Linked DNA regions of Homo sapiens: region 2 is linked to region 1. The links are contacts of gene promoters, found by promoter capture Hi-C in blood cells and fetal thymus (Javierre and others, 2016). All regions are on one chromosome and are shown on one strand. Each heading gives the region's core, a stretch centred on a gene start or on the middle of the fragment in contact. The rest is flanking DNA. Distances are from core to core; before and after follow the strand shown. Region 1 holds the start of APLN (apelin). Region 2 overlaps ZNF280C (zinc finger protein 280C).

Evidence for each region. Contacts are between HindIII fragments. The CHiCAGO score rates a contact against its expected background, and 5 or more counts as called.
Region 2: a contact is called between a fragment that was not itself captured here and the fragment with the promoter of APLN in region 1, in 4 of 17 cell types (activated CD4 T cells, total B cells, non-activated CD4 T cells and 1 more). The highest score is 8.2, in activated CD4 T cells.

The regions. Positions count from the first base shown.
Region 1 is chrX:129,653,408-129,656,762 of GRCh38, reverse strand. APLN (apelin) reads left to right here and starts at 1,807. Exons shown (of 3, transcript NM_017413.5): 1 at 1,807-2,199. The coding sequence starts at 2,133. RefSeq lists enhancers at 624-683, 694-783, 2,476-2,535 and silencers at 1,966-2,045, 2,136-2,185. The HindIII fragment of the contact is 20,761 bases long and covers 1-3,355 here.
Region 2 is chrX:130,209,195-130,212,617 of GRCh38, reverse strand. It overlaps ZNF280C (zinc finger protein 280C), which reads left to right. Exons shown (of 19, transcript NM_017666.5): 16 at 2,903-2,965. Among named protein-coding and RNA genes, the nearest start is that of RAB33A, 39 kb to the right of the region's middle. The HindIII fragment of the contact is 157 bases long and covers 1,733-1,889 here.

The DNA of each region.
Region 1 (3,355 bases), core at 558-3,057:
TTGAACCTGGGAGGCGGAGGTTGCAGTGAGCTGAGATAGGGTATTGCACTCCAGCTTGAGCGACAGAGCAAAACTCGGTCTCAAAAAAAAAAAAAAAAAAAAGAAGAAAGAAAGAAAAAAGAAAAAAAGAAAAAGAAAAGAGAAAGAAAGCAAACTCTTTCCAGGGGAACAGTGAAGGGAGAATGGTCTCCTGCTACCCATGTCTGCTACTCATATCCTGGGTCTCAAGGATGAAGAGGGGTGCCATGCTTCACATGCTTTTTTTTTTTACTTGAGTGTGGTTAATGGGCCATAGGCTATTAATGAGAACCTTATCTTATTCCCTTCCTGCTACCTGAATTTAGGCAGTAAAGATGTTTTTGAAAATTTCATTTATATATTCAAAATTATGTATTGAGTACCAGTCATGTCGCAGGTACTGTTCTAGGTCTGGGGACACAGCTGTGAACAAAGCAAAGATCCCTCCCTTGTGGAGGTAACCCTTCTGGTGGAGAGAGACTGATAATAAATACATTGTGTATATATAGGATTTTTGCAACATTTCAAAGATATTTTAAATATGCCATGGTCTCTCATGTCTTTTATGGCACACACGCACCCTGTCCAATGTATCTTTTGTGTAAATCTGGACTTAACACTTCAAGCAAACTGCCTGGCTTGCTGAAAGGTGGAGACACCTTTCGATTCAGTCTTTTAATATGTGTTGAGTGCCACCTATGTGCAGAGCAAGATATTGGGGACTTTGGAGAGATCCAGAAGAGTGAGAAGACAGTATCCTACCTTAGGGGGTTCCCAGTCCAATGAGGGAAGCAGCCCCATGCCTTGGGAGCTCCCAAGCTATAGAAGCAGCTAACAATCGAGTCTGGAAAGGCAAACAACTTCAGGACCCGCTTCTAAAGCGGAATCGCAAGTACACGCAAAATGAATCCAGCCTTGACTGTGTGGAGTTGGGTAAACCACCTGCCTCTTACGTTGATGGGGAACTAGAATGAGGACAGCTCCAGGGAACAAGAAAGGGTAGACCATAGGAGCTGTCCCATGTCCCAACAGTGGGGAGGAGCTGATGGGCGGCCCCTGCTGGATTAGTGTTATCCTGAGAAGGCTTCTGGATGCGATGGGATTTGAGGTGCTGCTGCAAAGAATGAATTGCTCACGGAAGGGTGGGGTGGGGGCATTCCAGGTAGAGGGTGCCTCCTGGGGGATGCAGGGAACATGAGGGGCCTGGGCAATTAATCAAGCCTTGGGCACAAGCCTAGGCAGTCACCCCCAATTCAAAGCCAGTTGAAAATGCAGAGGAGAGAGGAGGGCCAGTGTTTGGTTGTCTTGACCAAACCCTTGAAGCTGGCCAGCGGCAAGGGCAAGGACCAGGGTCAGAGGTAGAGGGCGTGAGTGAAGGCAACCCAGACTGAGTCCTTCCCTAAGCGCCCAGGTTTCCTGACAGCTGTTAAGGAAGCAAGGTGAGAAAGGGTTAAGTGTGCCCCTCCACCGCCCCAAATGCTTCCTGTGTTTGAAATCCTTCAGGTCTCTGCAAACCCTCTGGCCCCCGGCCAGGCGGGCATTGTCCGGGGAGCGGTTGTAGGTTGTCAGAGAGGCCGCGCAGCCTTTGTTGTGGGGCCACCTCGGGGTTCCCTCTCGCGCTCACGCTCGGGCTGGGGCTGCAGAGTGCGTGCCTGGAGGGGGGCGGTGCGGGAGGCTCGCTCCCTCTCCCTCTTCCTGCCCCCCCTCTAGCCCTCCCGATGACCACATGACCAAGTGGGCTCGCGGCCAAGCCACAAGCTACAAAATGCAGCCCCTGGAGTGAGCGGGGAGCATTCTCTCTGGCAGCCGGGGTCACGGGCAGTTGCAGCCGCGGCCGAGCAGCCAGCCGCTAAGAAAGAGCTCGCCGCTGCCGCTCCCGGAGCCGCCGAGGCCAGCTTCGCGGCGCTGCCCCGCGGCGGGAGAGGAGGCTGCAGAAGAGCGGAGGCGGCCAGCGGGAGCGGCGGGGCTCAGCGCGCACACTCAGCGGCCGGGGAGCCTCCCGAGCTCTGCGCCCGCACGCGCCAGCCGCGGCTCGCGCCTTTCTTGGCCTCCGGGCGCCCGACCTCTCCTCCCCCGCGCCGGCTCGCCGGGGCCGCGGCGGCCCAAGGAGCAGCATGAATCTGCGGCTCTGCGTGCAGGCGCTCCTGCTGCTCTGGCTCTCCTTGACCGCGGTGTGTGGAGGTGAGTGCGCGCCCTCCCGCTCGCCCGGGCTGCAGCCGGCGTGCTCCTTTCCCTCCGCCCTATTCGCACTCTCCCCGCCTCCCGGGGAGCCCGGCGCGAGCCGTGCAGTAGCAGCCACGCGCCGGCCAGCGCCAGGCAGCAGATTGACAGAGCGCCCCGAGCCATGGGGCGGCTGGCCACAAGGACTGCTTCTTTTGCGGGGCTCAACTCGGCCTTTGGCATCACCTGCCCGTCACCTTGTCCCTCCTAACCGTCGCTCGCAGTCCCAGGAGCTCAGGACCACAGGTGTGCGCCGCGTGTCCCACGCCCTGCACCCCGCGTGGTAGAGGTGGAGGCGGGGGACATGCCCGCTCCCTCGTGGATCGATGGAAGGAACTGACCAGAGTCGAGTGGGCTGGGCTCCCATGTTGAACGTCTTCTGGTCCCTGAAGGCTGGGAGCCTCCCGCCAGTCCAGGGGCGCGGGAAACCGGGGATGATGTGCCAACATGCAGACGTGACACTTGTTGCATAGGCAGGAGTGCGCGGAGGGGGTGGCGGCATGGAGCCCAGCTGTTGCTCCTTTCGGCCTGCATGTGTGAGCAGAGGCAGCCTCCCCCAGGCAGGGCCGGGCCCAGCCGGGCTGGGCTGGTCTTCTCCTCCCTAACCCCAAGGTCCTGGCTGGTCTCCTCCCCTGCACAGGATGCCCTCCCCATAGCCTCCATCCCACCCCCAGAGACTTGGTTCTCTTACATCCTGGCTCCAGCCTTCCTTTCTGTCCCAGGCACGGACATGCTTCACTTTAGTCTCCCTGCCGCTAGGCACCAAAGGAGGAAGCACAGCACCTGACCCGACCCCTCCCTGCAGCTCAGGAAAGGGGAGTCCTTTTGCCCTCACCTGCCAATACTTGGCACTAGTGCCCATGTCCGCCCCTAGCCTGGTCCCCAACCACGCCCCAGCAGCCCCATCCCAGGCTGCCTGTCCTCTGTGTCAATGTCTCCTGGGGCTGCCAGCTCCCACCTCCAGCTGCCACAGTCCTATGATCTGGCTGTCATTGCTGCCTGCCTGGCACCACACAAGGGGAAGGCCAAGACCAGGTGGACTAACGCCAGGACCATGGCTGGAGTCACAGGGAGGTGGGAGCAGAAAGAAGGAGAAGGCAGGGCAGTGAGTTTCCTG
Region 2 (3,423 bases), core at 562-3,061, 560 kb before region 1:
ACGCCACCTACATACAGCTAAAGCTTCTCCTTTAAAGGTTATCAGTCATATCCTAACTACTGGATGTACTCATTATTTTTCATTCTTACTCCTCTATGACTTCTTCAGAGTATTTGACATTTTTGATCACTTACTTTTGGAACTCTTCTCAACTTCTGTCTGTTAAACTGTTACCACCATTTTTCTTCTTTCCTTTTGGCTGCTACTCCTCTATGTAATTATCTTTTCTCCCTTCAACTGTTCTTGTCCCCTTATAATCCCTTTCTTGGTACCTTAACCATTCTTAAAGTTTTATCTTTTACCTTTCAACTGTAAATCCTCTAGATTTCAAAGCCGAGTTTCCCTGAGACCCAACTGTTTGTTTCTAACTAGGATTCAAACCACTTTTACTTCAATACCCTTTAAGCTCAGTCTGTTTCAGGGCATCATTTGCATAAACATGAAGCACCAGCTAGAAATAATTTACTATCCCAAGTTTCTGAAGCCCATGGAGTTCTCTTGATCTGCCACTATACATCCTAGCTTCCGGAGAGTCCACCTTTTGCAGTTTACCAGTCTGCCTCTTCCACTACTACAGTGGTTCTGCACCTATACCCCAGTTTCTCTAAAGCAGACCCTAGCCAACCCTTCCCCCAGTACACTGCTGTGATTAATATTGTTCTCTTATTCTGTGCTAAACACTTGGCTGCCCTAGTGAGGCTTTAATTCTGCCACTAATTTATAGAGGATTAAATTGGAAAATATTTTTGGCATTACTTAAACCCATGTGTCATTCCGTCCTCCCCTCTCCCATTTTCCATAGGCTCACCAACTGTCTTGTAGAACCTTCAGCCCCATTCTATCCCCAGACATTCCCAATTGACCTAAAGTTACCTTCATAACATTTTCCTAATTTCTGGTGAGCCCCTGCACTGTCATCACACACATTGAGCTCTTACTCATCATTAACCTCATCTAGAACTGAAAGCTTCCACTTCTACTCTTCTGAGGGCCTCGTAGGTCCCTTTGCTTTTCCCCTACTTCAAGGGTACACTGTTTCCCTCATTGCTTCAGGTACCTTCCTCTGAATGGTGCACCCTCACTCCTACTCGGTGTGGACTTTTGTCATAGGTTTGAGTTCTGTATGTTCAGAGGCTTCATTTTCTCAGAGGTTGAGTACCTTTATTCCCAGGCTATGCCAACTCTTATGAGAAGACAGGCCCTCAAAATTGATCTATCTTCCCCAATGTATAGGCTCTTCATATTCAGTATCTAAAGTAGTTTTTCTTATTCTTGATTATTCTCTGAAATGCCCCTCTCCTTCCTCTCGTTTCACCCTCTGTGAAGTATCTGATCAGCACAGCCAGTCACAAGAATCATTCCTTTCTTTGAGTTCCGTAACATTCTGCTCTTCTGCCTCACATGTGTCTCTATTACCTCTTTGAGAAAGAAGCTCTTTCGTTGTATTCACCATGGTGCCTATTCTGAGGATGTTTTCTTGGAATTACAGCTAGCCAGAATCTTTATTTTCCCATGCATATATAGTAAGCTGGTGATGGTTACCTTGTGTCTGAGGGTAACTGTTGACCTGCTGTGTTGGGTCTGTCAGTGCAAGATAGGGCTAGTGCTTCTCAAACTAGCTTGCATAAGAATCAGCTGGAAAACTTGGGAAAACAGATTTCTGGGCCCCACTGCCAGAGATTAGTTCACTATGTTTGCAGTAAGGCCTGAAACTTTGTGTTTCTAACAAGCTTCTAGGTGATGCTGATGATGCTGGTCCATGGACCACACTTTGAGTAATACTGTGCTAGGCTAATCCTGGCTAATCTTGCCTGGTTGTCTAACACAGGAAGGCTTTCCTTATCATTTTAAAGGGAGGCATAAAAGCTATTACCATTGGCTGTGAAGCTTGATTAGTGGTTTTCTGATCTGTGTGTAGGAGAAGCATTGTTTTAATTCATGAGCTCTGCTCCTTAATTTGCTCTCTTTGAAAGTTCTCCTGGTAATTGCAAAGGACTCTTTAAATGTTTCATGTTTATTGAATTAAGCAATGGCCTTTATCTCAAGTAGTGTTTACTTCCAGGATCATTCAGATTATCCCCCTCCCCAAACATATTAAGATTAAAATGTAATAAGTAATTATTATTTTCCAGCCTGGGTGACAGAGCAAGACTGTCTGAAACAAAAAATAATAATTATTATAACAATTTCTATCATAGCAAAATACATTATCAAATATCCTTTAAATTGTTCTCTTAATAGTTAAAAAACTTTAATTTGACACTGCATTTTTAACTCAAGCATTGTTTTTAGTAATGGTGAGGTACTGATCATCTAAGAAAATTCTCAGGGAAATATGTCATTAGAAAATATAAAGGTAAAGTGGAATGTAAGTTAAAATTCTTGAATTAAACAGAGATGACTGTCTTCGTCCATTCAGGCTGCTATAACAAAATACCATAGACTGGGTAGCTTATAAACAACAGAAATTTATTTCTCACAGTTCTGGAGGCTGGAAAGTCCACGATCAAGGTGCCGGCAGATTCGGTGTCTGGGTGAGGGCCCATTCCTCATAGACAGCACCTTCTCACTGCGTCCTCACATGGTGGAAGGGGCACACTGGCTCTCTAGGATCTCTTTTATAAGTGCACTAATCTCATAAGGGCTCTGCCCTCATGACCTAATCACCTCCCAAAGGCCCCACCTCTTAATGCCATCACTTTGGGGGTTAAGATTTTAACATGAATTTTGGGGTGACACAGAAATTCAGATTATAGCTTTAACCAACAGAATTTTATTATTTAGATCATGATCTTTTATTCAAAACTAAGAAATTAAGCATTGGCTTGAAATGTGGTCAGAAAATTAATATGGTGTTGTATAATAAAATTAATAAAATCTTGTTTGTCTCGTGTTTCTCCAGCTCTCATAGCAACCATCCAGGTAAACGGTTTTGTATTTTCAAGAAGCATTCAGGAACTCTCAGGTAATCATTGATCTTTTTTTTTTCTTTCAATTGAAATATTGCAGTAACTTTTTAAAACTTGATGTTGGAGTGCCTGCTTTGGAAATGATAGAGTTCTGTTTATTATGTCCTTGGACCAAAGTTGGAGGGATAGCCTATCATCTCTGACTAAACTCTGTAGTGCCAAGCATTAAGATGAAACCTTCATGTATTTGCGTTTGTAAAATAACAAAAATAAGGTTCTCCAACCATATCTGAATAGAAGTAAGTTTATGAAAATACCATAATACTTGAAATCAATATATAGCCTTCATAATTGTTAATGTTTTTAGAATTAAAGTATATAAGTTGTTTACTGTACAGAAAAAAAATTGATGAATATTTCTAAAGGCATTGATAATTACCATTGGTTACACCACACACATTTAGCTCAGAATCAACTAAACATCTGTTTTTTTACATTATTTTGTTATCTTTTG